Linked DNA regions of Homo sapiens: all the other regions are linked to region 2. The links are contacts of gene promoters, found by promoter capture Hi-C in blood cells and fetal thymus (Javierre and others, 2016). All regions are on one chromosome and are shown on one strand. Each heading gives the region's core, a stretch centred on a gene start or on the middle of the fragment in contact. The rest is flanking DNA. Distances are from core to core; before and after follow the strand shown.

Region 1 (4,468 bases), core at 601-3,100, 640 kb before region 2:
GTATTATAATTTGAATGTTGTGAAAGAAAAATATTTTGTCGTTACTTGCACTGATAAGCATCTCAGCTTTTTTAGAGCTGCTTTTGCACCCTGAGAAACTTTGACTTTAGGGTTTTAAAAAATGTTATATGGTTAAAGTTATATTGCAGAGCAAAACTGCCTGAATTCTTCTCATGTATATTAAGTCTAGAAATTGCACACTATATGTCTGCTATTTTGTCTACAAAGTCATGAAAAACCGAAAATAATATTCATAATAGGTAGTTATAGATTCTGATATATAGAGAATATCTGCTTTAATATTTTTGTTCCTGAAAATTCTCATCTTATTTTCATTTTATAAATTTAAAAAACTACTGGGTATTAGTAAAAAAAAAATTCACGTTTTTTGCAATACCAAGGAAAGCAAGTCAAGATTTGTGTTTTTTTCTTTACATATACCATTAAATATAACATGGGACATGGGTCACAGCTCTGCCAAAAGATCTCTTTGTAGCTATGTGTTGCCAGAAACAACACTGTGGAGATCCCTTTCGAGTTGTGGCAAGTCATGTGGACAGCTTGAGATGGGTAACCTCATATGCCCTGTCATAAAGAGAAGAAAGAAAGGATGACATCAGACTCTACCCCATTCTTTGTTCTGCCTGCAATTCACTGTTGTAAACTGGCAAAGCTTTTTCCTCAAGGGTAGTTGTCAAAGTCACAGCATGATCACAGGAGGTGGTAATAGGAAGTTGGCATGAGCCACTGACAGAGAAATTAGTTTGAGACTTCTTGTGATTCTCCTCAGGGATTTCAGCAACAGCCAGCTCTTCTAAGCTAATTAGTCCTACATTGTTGTAATGGATGATCAGAAAAAACAGTAATTGAAAATGATACAGTTCTTTAGTAATGCTAAAACTGTAAACAACAGAAATATCAAGAAATGAAACAAACATTTAGAACCATTTGGATAAATTGGATGAATAGGTTAGCAGATGAAAAATTCAGTTTCAAAGTAGACAAAATAAGATTTATTTGGGAGCAGACATCCAAGTTAGGGGCTATATATTAAATGATGCAATTATCAATACACTGAACATATTCTTTCTTTTATTAATAGACTGGGAAATATTCTTAAAATCATTTTCCTTTGGTTTAAGTTTGAATGTGTAGTTTTCATTTACACAGCATATATCTGTGGTTCACAGACACATTCTGAAATTTATTCTTGAGTTTATTCTCATTCATTCTTATTATGCAACTCTGTCACAATCCCCATTTCACAATTAAGATACATTTTCAAAAGTTACTCTGAAAGTAAGAGTTGGAGCCCAGACTTAAAAGCTGGATCTCTCTAAATTATGTTCTCTTTTTTATTCCACAATGGAGACTGAACAGATGAAATTTTAACTCTAACTATAGTTGCTCTGTTGTAGAGTAAGTGAATAAGTTTAGAGGACAAATACAGTGTATAGAATAGTACAAATGTTACTTTTATTTGTTTATTCCTTTTAGACATGGGAGTCTTACTAGGTTGCCCACGCTGAAGTGCAGTGGCTATCCACAGGCGTGATCATGCCGCACTACAGCCTTGAATTGCTGGGCTCGTGATCCTCATGCTTCAGCCTCCTGAGAAGCTGGGACTATAGGCACATGCCACTGCATCTGGCTACAAATATATGTATTTGTATTTGTACATATATATTTGTAAAATATATATATTTATATTTGTACAAATATATGTTTGCATATATATTTTAATATATATAATAAAAATATATATATATTTTGAGACAGAGTCTCGCTCTGTCACCAGGCTGCAGTGCAGTGGCACGATCTCAGCTCACTGCAACCTCTACCTCCCAGATTCAAGTGATTCTCCTGCCTCAGCCTCCCGAGTAGCTAGGACTACAGGCATGCACCACCATGCCCAGCTAATTTTTGTATTTTTAGTAGAGACGGGGTTTCACCATGTTGGCCAGGATGGTCTTGATCTCTTGACCTCGTTATCCGCCTACCTCAGGCTCCCAAAGTGCTGGGATTACAGGCGTGAGCCACCGCCCCCCGCCAAGTGTTGTTTTTATTAAATTGTGATAATAGATATTTTCCCCCTATCCTTTCCATGAATTGTGTTGCCATATGGTTCTATCTTCAATAAGGTTTAAATTGTGCATGCAGGACCTCTTTGACTTTCAGATCTGGCATTTTTTTTTTTCTAATTGGGGTAGTAAGTGAAGAGCGGAAAATATACTTTTGCCTGGCACAAAAGAGAATGAGGGCAGATCCAAGACTTATTTTGTTATTATTCAATTCCCATCTGCCATTACACTCTCTTAAAGTTTGTTTGCAGTTTCTTATCCATTCTGTGAGAGATAACAGAGTACACTTTTGCCCTTTTTCCTTTATGTCAGGGAAGTGAACAGTGATTTTTTTAATGAGGATGAACTTTTAATTTTGAGACTTTATATTTCTTGATAGCAGTAAGCATGCTTTTTATTCGTTAAAAATTATAGCTCTTAATTGTTTTTACAGAAATTTTATGCAAAGTGGTCATATATTATATTGCATCATATTCTTTAACTTAGAACTGATAAAAATGAGAGTTTGATTTATCCTTGTTGAAGTTCCTAGAAAACAGACTTGGAGCTGCAAGAACACAACACACTTCCCCTGGAAAATACTCAAAGAAGTAAATCTCTGGACATTGTTTACAGCCCTAGTAGGATACAAGAAGAAATGTTCCTTATTTAGAAAAAGAATCATAAAGCTAGGAAATATTAGCTAAAATGTCAATAAGTAGGGAAGAAAAGAGAGAGGGATGGTAGAAAAATGCAGATCTCCATAAATGTGGCTGTGATAGCTTGGGCTGCCATGGAAAATACCACTGAAGGAGTGGCTTAAACAACAGACCTTCATTTTCTCACAGTTATAGAAGCTGGAAGTCCAAGGTTAAGGTGTAATCAGGGTTCGTTTTTGTGAGGCCTCTCTTCTTAGCTAATAGGCGGCTGCCTTCTCTCTGTGTGGTCACACAGCCTTTCCTCTGTGCAAGCTTGGAGAGCACACTCGCTCTCCCTTCTTCTTCTTGGAATGTCACCAGTTCTATGGGAGGTCCCATTCTTATGACTACTTAACCTTCATTACCCCCTTAAAGGCACTATCTGTAAATATAGTCACACTGGGGAGTTAGAGCCTCATCATATGCATTTGGGGGGTGACACAGCTCTGCCCACGACAATGACCTTAACACTAGGATAGTTGTTTTGCAGAATGTCACTCGATCTGAGTTTGTTTCATGTTTCCTCATGAGGAGATCTAGGTTATGGATTCTGGGTGGGAGTCTCTCACAGGGGATATTGTGCTCTCACTGCATTCTCTCATGTGATTTTAATTTGTCCAATGGTGTTTACTTTGATCACCTGAGTGACAAAAGTGGTGACTCTCAAGACTTCTCTATTATAAAGTTTCTTGATGTGTTGCTAAATAACAGTTAGTAAGCATGGTTTTAGCTTGGAAAAACTGATACACCTCTTAACAGAAGTAGAGATGCCAGAAAATCCATGAGAGATTGTGGAGAAAGGGGTGTTCAAGGACTTGAAAATGCTATAATGAGTCTACTGTACCTAACCAGAAAACCCACCAGCTGACTGTCCTCAGGAGGGTCTAGAAAATACTACATTTGCCCAATTGATAAGAAATGCCCTGGTGAGGTGAAGGGGCACCAGCATTTTGAGAACCTCAGGAAAGTCTGTCTTCTGTAGGTTGGGGCTGAAGGTAGCTGATGGTGTTGCAGAACCGAGCATTTTAGTAGCAACGAGGGTACTAGATCCCAGGAAAGCAGAGGCCAGGAGGCAGCCTTTAAGAATCAGAAGAAAGATGAACATAATTACTATAACAGGTAGCAAGACTGGAATTTCATTCAGGGGAAACTGATCTGCAGGGAACTTGGGAGATGACATGGTTCTCCTAAGGGCAAGAGTGCTGAGCCGTTGTCACAGGTTGGGTTTTCTAGAAAGAGGCTGGTGTTTAGGAAGCAGGTTGTTCACTCAGGTATGTCCTTGGGATTGAAACTCATGAAACTGAGGGAAAGAAAGTGGCATTAAGCCGAGGGAAATGAACTTCATACAAGCCTGGCTGACCCGCAGGGTAAGCTGTGAAACTCACATAGTTTTTTAGCAGTGTTCCAAGTTGGGTTGGGATGGCCAGGCCTTATTGTCCCACACTGATCAATGAATAGATGTTGGCCACCTTGGGAAGGGGCAGGTATTAGTCAGGATTCTGCAGAGGAACAGAACTAATGGGACAGACATCTGAATCTCCATCTCGCTCCAGAGATTTATTATAAGGTATAGGCTCATATGACTGTAGAGGCTTATGGAGGCTGATTCTGGAGGCGGATGTGATTCTACCACCTGCAAGCTGGAGATCCAGGAAAGCTGGTTCTCTAGATTCCACTCCAAGACTGAAGGCCTGAGAAGCAGGAGTGCTG
Region 2 (4,308 bases), core at 126-2,625:
ACATGCTGGTGCCGTCCCCTCCGCGCATCAGGACGTGGTAGGTGAAGAAGTAGATGCCCGGGATGGAGCAGGTGAACTTGCCGGTGGTGGGGTCGTAGTGGTTTCCGAGGTTGGTGACCACGTCGTCGAACTTGAGCACCTCGTAGCCTTCATGCTGCCGCTTGAGGCCGGCGTAGAAGGCGATCTTGGGCACCGTGCTGTAGGTGGCGGCGCTGATGGCCCCGGCCGCGTTCAGGCCGGGCGCCCCGGGCGGGCCCGGCAGGCCTTGGCGGCCCGGCTCGCCCTTCTCGCCCGGGGGCCCCATGGGGCCGGGTGGCCCGGGCTCTCCGGGGGGCCCGCGCGGACCCGCCTTCCCGGGCCTGCCGGCCTCGCCTTTGGGGCCCTGGATGAAGGTGGGCAGGGACTGCATGAGGCCGCGGTCGGGCGTGGCAGCGGTGCTGGGCGCCTTGGTGCCCCCGTAGGGGTCGCAGACCATGCGGCAGGTGCCCAGCATCTCGTAGTGCGCCGACGTGCCGGCCGAGCTCACCAGCACCGGGATGAGGATCACCAGCAGCAGCACCATCACCACCCCCAGCGCCCCGGCGGCGATCAGGCGCCTCCTGCTGCCCACCAGCCGGCTCAGCGCGGGGCGATCCTCTTGTCTGCTTTTGGACAGAATTTTGAAGGTTGGGCGGGGACCTCTTCAGAGCCGAAAACAACCCCCTGCGAACCCCAACTCCCCTGGGCGTGCGTGCGCCGGCCGCTGCTGCCGACTCCTGCTCCCCCCGCGGAGGCTGCGGCTGGGGAGGGAGCGCGGGCGCCCAGTGACTTGAGCCGAAGTCCCGAGCCCGGGGTGGGGGCCGGGGGAGGGGTGCGCGGGGCGCCCTCGCCCCCCGCGAGCTCCTTCGCACCTGTGGCTGCAGCCGGCGCCGGCGCGGCCACCGGGAGGGCAGAGCCAGCCGCCGCCTCCTGAGCTCGCCCGGGCAGCTCACACTTTTATGCCGCCGCCGCCTGCGATCGACTTTTCCGTTTTTGCAGACTGCGCCTGTTCGCACCAACTTTCCGTCTGAAGTTGCCTTTTTCTGCCTCCTCCTCCTCTTCTTTCGCTCGCTCAGTTCGCCCGTCCGCTGCCTTTTTTTTTTATTGCCTCCTTTCTCTCTTCCTCCTTTGCCACCACCACAACTCGAATAGACGCGCACCCCAAAGCCCCGCGTGGGCCCGGGCGTCCCCCGGGTGCGCCCAGCGGCGGCGGCGGCGGGCACGGTCGGCACGGCGAGGCTCAGAGCTGGGGCGGAGGAGCGAGCGAGCAGCGGCGAGCGCCTCACGGCCGGGAGCGGAGCGAGAGAGAGACTGAAGGCAGAATTCTGCCTGGGTACCACCTGCCAGGAGAAGAGGAGGCTGACAAACGCGCGCCGGAGCAATTTATAGGCACCCAAGGCACAGAGGAAGGGGAGCCGCTTTGGCATCTCATTGCAGCATCTGCTCTGCTCATCCCACTCAGAGAGAGTTTGGCATTACTCTGACAATGTGGGATTTTTTTTTTTTTTTCGGCCTCTCTTTTTTTCTCTCTCTGCACATGGATGAACAGTGAGATTCTGAATACTCCCTTGCTGAACCAAGCGATGGCAGGTCCTGCTGGACCCACCTGGGGAAGGGAGACAGCTGTGCGACAGCTTTCAGAGCTCAAGGGTCACACCTAAATCCCCGATTTCCCCACTGCCAGCAGCCCCAGTTGGAGGGTGGAGGTGAAGGTTGAAAGGAGGGTGGCTGAGTTGACAGTTTCTTTGCTAGCTCCTCTACAATCAGTGCTTCAGGTGTTTTCAAAATGCCACTGTTAACAGAAGGAGGGCCTTTTAGAATTTTCCAGATGGTAGATGTGATTTTCTTTTAACCTGATGGTTTTCCTCCTCTGCCTTGTAAATGAATAAGATGTTGCCCCAAGAACAGTGAGGTATGTTGAAAAGCCAAAGAACATTTGTGAATGATTTTAAATGAACATGTCCACCGCCTCTGGGGGAGGAGGGGGTTGGTCCTTTTTACAAATGCTGCACCGTGGTGAGTGCATACATACGTACTGTGCTTACAGTCTTACAGTTCTAGCAGTCTTTCGGGGGATACCGCCAATGGCCCTGAAGTTGCGTTTACTTAAAGTCGCTAAATGTACAAGAAATAACCACTTGTCAAAATGGCGTCAAAAGATCAAGCAAGAAGCTTTTGCACAAGTGCTGGGCAAGGTCTTTTCCTAGCATATGGAAAGAGTTCTATAAGCTCCATAGCAGATTTCCCGAATATACATTGAGGGAGGGGAGAAGTAGGAGAAATACAAGAAAGAAGAGCCCCCATTCTCAGTGGGTGAGCTGCAGAAGGAACAGCATGGTTTATCATATTACTGGAAGGCCTCCAGGGTAGATATCAGGCAAGTTACCCCACCAACAAATACATAAGACACACAAGAATGGCTTTAAATAAATAAGTAGAATTGAATCCTAAATCATACTTTTGCATTCAGGAGCAACAGATGTCAATCAAACGTGGGTGACATTTGCTTGTCAATACGAGGATGATGGCTGGGAAGACGGTGACTTATTACATCAGGGTGAGAATCTGAAATGAGAAAAGCAGGAACAAATAAGACTACAGCAAGCAAACAGTAACATCCTGGGTGACGATCAGCAGCCTGTGATCTTGTCTGCGGGTGTCACAGCATGGACTTCTCCTTTCCTCCCTGTGCCTCAATCTCCCCGCCCCCCAGCCTACTCCAGTCCACCCCACCAATTTAGTTCTTTCTTTCTTTCTTTCTTCTCTGTTTCAAAACAAAATAAGGTCAAACGAGCAGACAGAAGGAAACAAAGACTGAATGATTCTTTTAAGAGAAATGTCAGTAGCTCCTTCAGGCCTTGGCTGGGAGAATCAACCCTAAAAGCTGTGCTGTGTGGCTCAGCGGGGTGGGGGTCTCCACCTCCTGGCTACTGAGAGAGCCACACTGCTCCTGGTATTGGAAAATAGGGCTTCCCACTTCTCAAGCCCTTAACTTTTATTTTAGGGTAGTGGTTTTATAAATGCGCGCCTATTGCTTGGGCATAATTATACACATAGTTCCATAATATTTTTGTTCACATGAGCTGCCTTATTTTCATATTTTTAAGGAGCAAACACATAATAAGTTGTCTCCTGGCCATAATACTTACTTTCCTAACACACCTTCTGGATTGCTTCTTAAAAGTCACCTTCCTTTTGGAGGACAAAATGGTGAGGTTTGCTGCCAGCACTGGGGGGGTAGGATATTAATAAAACTCTGATGCACCAGATTATCAAATTTCATAAGGCCTCTCTATTGCTATGAAGAGTTCTGTAGGTGACACAAAAGGAGTTTTTAAAAGGTAGAGATGTATAGAGAAGTTCTCATCAAAACCTCAAGCTATGTGGAGTTTTCCCATTGACTAACGCTTAAGATATATTGGAGTCAAATGCTCATAAAATGCTCATCAATGCTTATAAAATATTAAGAGTTGAAATGGACTCTCTGTTCATGCAGATGATGAGACCGAAACAGAGAGCTTCCAGGAGGATCAATGCCATTCAATGAGCTTGCTGCTGTACTCCCCTCTACACAATATGGATATATCCCATCCCAGCCCGAGACTGGCCATACTAGTTCTAGTAACTGAGGCTTTCCTCCTACTTTCTCTGACGCCAAAGCAAATTTGATTTTGCAAGTGAGTGCCCTCACATTTTAAAGCTCTGCTGAGATTTAGAAAGGCACTCAGCAGTCATCATTCATCATGAAGTCACTCCCTCCCAGGCCACGTGGCTGACCCCAGACTTTCTATTAACTGCACAAGCCTGGGCAACACATGGATATTTGGCTCTGTAGTGAAGCAAATTTAAATTCTTGGTCTCCTTCCTCTCCTCCAGAAGTATCTCACTGTGCACTTTGGGGGAACCTTTTGGTTCCCCCACAATTTTCAAGGATGACTTGGTAGTAAACGAACTTATGGCTGGTTACTGAGACTTTCTACTGCTTGAATTTCCCAGAAGGTTCTCTGCAAAGTTACTCACGCTTCAGCTCTTGTTCTGACAGTTTGGATAAACCATCTGATATGGCATATTACTCATCATCTTCATATATATAATAATAGAAAACGTGTCAATTAAAAAAATATTTGATTTTCTTCAGTCCTCATTAGAGAACCAAGTTTTCTCTCATATTCGATAAGAATCTTGGAAGTGGGCCCTGGACTCTCATTTCTGCAGCATCTCCCAACCATCTCTCAAGAAAACACCAGGCTCCCTACTCCCATTGCACCTGTACCTGGACCTTGTGGACCC
Region 3 (4,972 bases), core at 1,328-3,827, 600 kb before region 2:
CACGTAGTTCTCGAGCCTTGGTTTTCAGCTCCATCAGCTCCTTTAAGCACTTCTCTGTATTGGTTATTCTAGTTATACATTCTTCTAAATTTTTTTCAAAGTTTTCAACTTCTTTGCCTTTGGTTTGAATGTCCTCCCGTAGCTCAGAGTAATTTGATCGTCTGAAGCCTTCTTCTCTCAGCTCGTCAAAATCATTCTCCATCCAGCTTTGTTCCGTTGCTGGTGAGGAACTGCGTTCCTTTGGAGGAGGAGAGGCGCTCTGCGTTTTAGAGTTTCCAGTTTTTCTGTTCTGTTTTTTCCCCATCTTTGTGGTTTTATCTACTTTTGGTCTTTGATGATGGTGATGTACAGATGGGTTTTCGGTGTAGATGTCCTTTCTGGTTGTTAGTTTTCCTTCTAACAGACAGGACTCTCAGCTGCAGGTCTGTTGGAATACCCTGCCGTGTGAGGTGTCAGTGTGCCCCTGCTGGGGGGTGCCTCCCAGTTAGGCTGCTCGGGGGTCAGGGGTCAGGGACCCACTTGAGGAGGCAGTCTGCCCCTTCTCAGATCTCCAGCTGCGTGCTGGGAGAACCACTGCTCTCTTCAAAGCTGTCAGACAGGGACACTTAAGTCTGCAGAGGTTACTGCTGTCTTTTTGTTTGTCTGTGCCCTGCCCCCAGAGGTGGAGCCTACAGAGGCAGGCAGGCCTCCTTGAGCTATGGTGGGCTCCACCCAGTTCGAGCTTCCCAGCTGCTTTGTTTACCTAAGCAAGCCTGGGCAATGGCGGGCGCCCCTCCCCCAGCCTCGTTGCCGCCTTGCAGTTTGATCTCAGACTGCTGTGCTAGCAATCAGCGAGATTCCGTGGGCGTAGGACCCTCTGAGCCAGGTGTGGGATATAGTCTTGTGGTGCGCCGTTTTTTAAGCCGGTCTGAAAAGCGCAATATTCGGGTGGGAGTGACCCGATTTTCTAGGTGCGTCCGTCACCCCTTTCTTTGACTCGGAAAGGGAACTCCCTGACCCCTTGCGCTTCCCAGGTGAGGCAATGCCTCGCCCTGTTTCGGCTTGCGCACGGTGCGCGCACACACTGCCTGCGCCCACTGTCTGGCGCTCCCTAGTGAGATGAACCCAGTACCTCAGATGGAAATGCAGAAATCACCCGTCTTCTGCGTCGCTCACGCTGGGAGCTGTAGACCGGAGCTGTTCCTATTCGGCCATCTTGGCTCGGGAAGTGTCGCTGAATTCTCTTATGTACATAATCATGTTTTCTGCTAATAGTGACAATTTCATTCTTTACTTTCCAATAATTATGAAATTTAAAAATATTTATTTTGTTGTTCTTACTGCTTTGGCTAGAACGTTTACTACATTGTTGTACAACATGGTGAAAATTGATAGTCTCGCTTTTTTCCTGATTGTAAGGGGCAGGGCTTGATATTGAACTATTGGTATAATTGCAGCAGCAGAAATTTTTTTAATCAATGAGGAGTGCTGACTTTTGTCAAATACTTTACTACATCTTTTGAGGTAATTACATAATTTTTCTCATTCATTTTGTTAATATGTTGAATTACATTGATTGATATTTGAATGTTAAGCCAGCCTTACACTTTGGGGATCAGGGGAGGAAAACTCCACCTAGTAATGATGTATTTATTATTCTTTTGATATATTCCTGGGTTTAAATTGCAGTATCTTATTGATTTTTGTGTCTATGATCATGTGGGTTATTTGTCTGTAATAATATTTTTGAAATGTTTAATTAGTTTTTTAAAAAAACCATGTGGCTTCATGAAATCAGTAGAGAAGATTTTTTTGCCTCCTCTATTTCTTGAGACAATTTGTATATAATTTTTATTATTTCATATTACTTATTTGCCCAATTTTAAATTGGGATTTTTTGTTGTCGTTTTTGAGTTTTAGAAGTTTTCTATATAGCCTGGATTTTAATCCCTTATCAGAATCAGATATGTAATTTGGAAATCTTTTCTCCCAATCTGTGTGTTGTCTACTTACTATGTTGATAGTGTCTTTTGATGTATGTTAAAAAATTCACGAAGTCCAATTTTTCTATTTTTTTTCTTTTGTTGCCTATACTATGATGTCACATTCAAATCATTGCCAAACTCAATCTCATAAAGCTTTCCCTGTGGTTTTTTCTAAGAGTTACATAGTTTTAGGCCTCACATTTAGGTACTTGATTTATTTTGAGTTAATTTTTTAATATAATGTTAGGTAAGGGTTCAACTTTGTTCTTTTGCATGTGGATATACATTTTTTTTCCAGGGCCATTTGTTGAAAAGACTGATTATATATTAGGGATTGTTTCTGGGCTCTCTAATCTATTCCATTGCTCTATATGTCTGTCTTTATGCCAGTAATACACTATTTTGTTACTGCAGTTTTATAGCAAATTTTGAAATCCGGAAGTGTGAGTCCTCTAGCTTTGTTCTTTTCTCAAGATTGCTTTGGCTATTCTGCAGCCCTTGAGATTCTATATGAATTTTAGGATAAGGTTTTCTTTTTCTGCAAAAAGTAGGAATTTTGATTGGATTGTGTTGAATCTGTAAATCACTTTGGATAGAATTAACATATTAAAAATATTAATTATTTCAATCCATGAACATGGGATACGTTTTCCATTTACTTATCTTTTAAAATTTCTTTCCGCAGGATTTTGTGGTTTTCACTGTATATGTCTTTTACTTCCTTTGTTAGTCCCTAAGTATTTTGATCTTTTTGATGCTATTGTAAATAAAATTTTTTTTTATAATTTTTTTCATATTGTTAAAATGTTAGTACCTAGAAATACAGCTGATTTTTTGTGCATTAATTTCTGCTACTTTGCTGAATTCATTTATTAGTTCTGTCAGGTTTTTTCGTAGAATCTTCAGAGTTTTCTACATACAAACTTATATTGAGAGATAATTTTATATCTTCTTTTCAAATTTAGATGCATTTATTTATTTTTCTTGCTTCGTTGCTCTGGGTAGAACTTCCAGTACAATATTGAATAGAGGTGGTTAAAGCTGGCATTCTTACCTTCTTTCTGATCTTAAGGAAAAGCTTTTGGTGTTTCACCGTGAAGTAAAATGTTCATTGTGGTTTTTTCTTATATGGCTTTTATTATGTTGAGGTAGTTTTCTTCTATTACTAGTTTGTTAAGTGTTTTCATTATGAAAGAGTGTTGAATATTGTCAAGTACTTTTTCTACATCAATTGACATGATCGTTTTTTTCTTCATTCTTGAATGTGGTGCATTGCATTGATTGATTTTCTTATATTTAACTCTTCTTGTATCCCAGGAATAAATGATATTTGGTCATGGTGTAAAATTATTTTAACATGCTGCCTAATTCAGTTTGCCAGTATTTTGTTAAGGATTTTTGCATCGATGTTTACAAAGGATATTGGCCTGTAATTCTCTTTGTCTGGCTTTAGTATCAGAGTAATGTTGGCCTCACATAAAGAGTTAGAAAATGTTCTCGCCTTTTCAACTTTTTGGAAAAGTTTGAGAAAAATTTGTGTTCTTTAAATGTTCAGAAGGATTCACCAGCAAATCCACTGTGTCCAGGGCATCTCTTTGTCAGGAGATTTTTTATTACTGATCTAATCTCCTTACTAGTTATAGGTCTATTCAGATTTTTTATTTATTCCTAATTTTGTCTTGGTAGGTTTTGTGTTTCTAGGAGTTTGTCCATTTCATCTAGGATATACAATTTGTTGGCATACAATTATTTAGAGTGTTCTCTTATAATCCTTATTCTTTCTTAGAATTGGTGATATCTCCAATTTCATTTCTTATTTAATAATTTGAGTCTTCTCTATTTTTTTTGATTAGTCTAACTAAAAGTTTGTCAATTTTGTTGATCCTTTTAAAGAAACAACTTTTGGATTTGTTGATTTTCTCCAGTGCTTTTTAATTTTCTATTTTATTTACCTCTGCTCTAATTTTCATTATTTCTCTCCTGCTAGCCTTGGGTTTAGTTTGCTCTTCCTTTCCTAGTTTCTCAAGTTATAAATTTAGGTTGTTGATTTGAGGCCTTTCTTGTTTTTTAATAAAAGTGTTTATAAATTTAACCATTGACACTCCTTCTACTGTGTTCCATAAGTTGTGCTATACAATATCTAAGGATTTTCTAATTTCCCTTTGAATTAGTTTCTTTTGTTGATCCATTGGTTAAGAGCATACTGTTTAATTTTGAGAAATCTGTAAATTTTCCAGTTTCACTTGTTGATTTCTAACTTCATTCCATTGTGGTCAAAGAGAGTATTTTGTGTTATATGTATTTAAAAAAATATACTGAGAGTTAATTCTTAGCCTGACACATGCTCTATTTTGGAAAATGTCTCATGCACTTGGGAAGAATATATAGAGAGTTCTCTATATATCTGTTAGATCTAGGTTTTGTTGTTGTTGCTGTTAAGTCCTCTATTATTTTACTTATTTTTTTTCTGGTTGTTCTATTAATTATTGAGGGTAGGGTATTGGAATCTTCACCTACTATTATAGAACTGCCTACTCTTCTCCTCAATTTTGTCAGTTCTTGGTTCACATATTTAGATAGTCTGTCATTAGCTGCATATATGTTTTTGATTGTTATATCTTCTTGCTGTCTTGACCCTTTTATTGATATATAGCGTCCTTTTTGGCTTTTGTAGTCTGTTTTGATGTAAGGTCTATTTTGTCTGATTTTCCTATGGCCACCCCTGTTCTCTCTTGGTCATTATTTGCATGAAATAGCTTCTTTCATCCTTTGATTTGCAATCTTTTTATGTTTTTTGATCTGAAATAAGTTTCTTATAGACAACATAGAGTTGGATCTTGTGTTAAAATCGATTCTGCCAATACCTGTTAGTTGGGGAATTTAATCCATTTATATTTAAAGTAATTATTGATAAGAAGATACTTTTTATTTTGCTATTTGTCTACATGCCTTATAGCAATTTTGTCCCTCATTTTCTGCATTACTCTCTTTTATGTTCAGCTGATTTT

The links. Contacts are between HindIII fragments. The CHiCAGO score rates a contact against its expected background, and 5 or more counts as called.
Region 1: a contact is called between a fragment that was not itself captured here and the fragment with the promoter of C1QL3 in region 2, in 7 of 17 cell types (endothelial precursors, M1 macrophages, M0 macrophages and 4 more). The highest score is 12.2, in endothelial precursors.
Region 3: a contact is called between a fragment that was not itself captured here and the fragment with the promoter of C1QL3 in region 2, in 3 of 17 cell types (endothelial precursors, megakaryocytes and M2 macrophages). The highest score is 9.6, in endothelial precursors.

What each region holds. Positions count from the first base shown.
Region 1 is chr10:15,879,192-15,883,659 of GRCh38, forward strand. No RefSeq gene overlaps it. Among named protein-coding and RNA genes, the nearest start is that of MINDY3, 21 kb to the left of the region's middle. The HindIII fragment of the contact is 2,358 bases long and covers 672-3,029 here.
Region 2 is chr10:16,520,504-16,524,811 of GRCh38, forward strand. C1QL3 (complement C1q like 3) reads right to left here and starts at 1,376. Exons shown (of 2, transcript NM_001010908.2): 1 at 1-1,376. The coding sequence starts at 562. RefSeq lists silencers at 227-286, 597-816, 1,087-1,316. The HindIII fragment of the contact is 3,157 bases long and covers 1-2,188 here.
Region 3 is chr10:15,920,552-15,925,523 of GRCh38, forward strand. No RefSeq gene overlaps it. Among named protein-coding and RNA genes, the nearest start is that of MINDY3, 63 kb to the left of the region's middle. The HindIII fragment of the contact is 925 bases long and covers 2,116-3,040 here.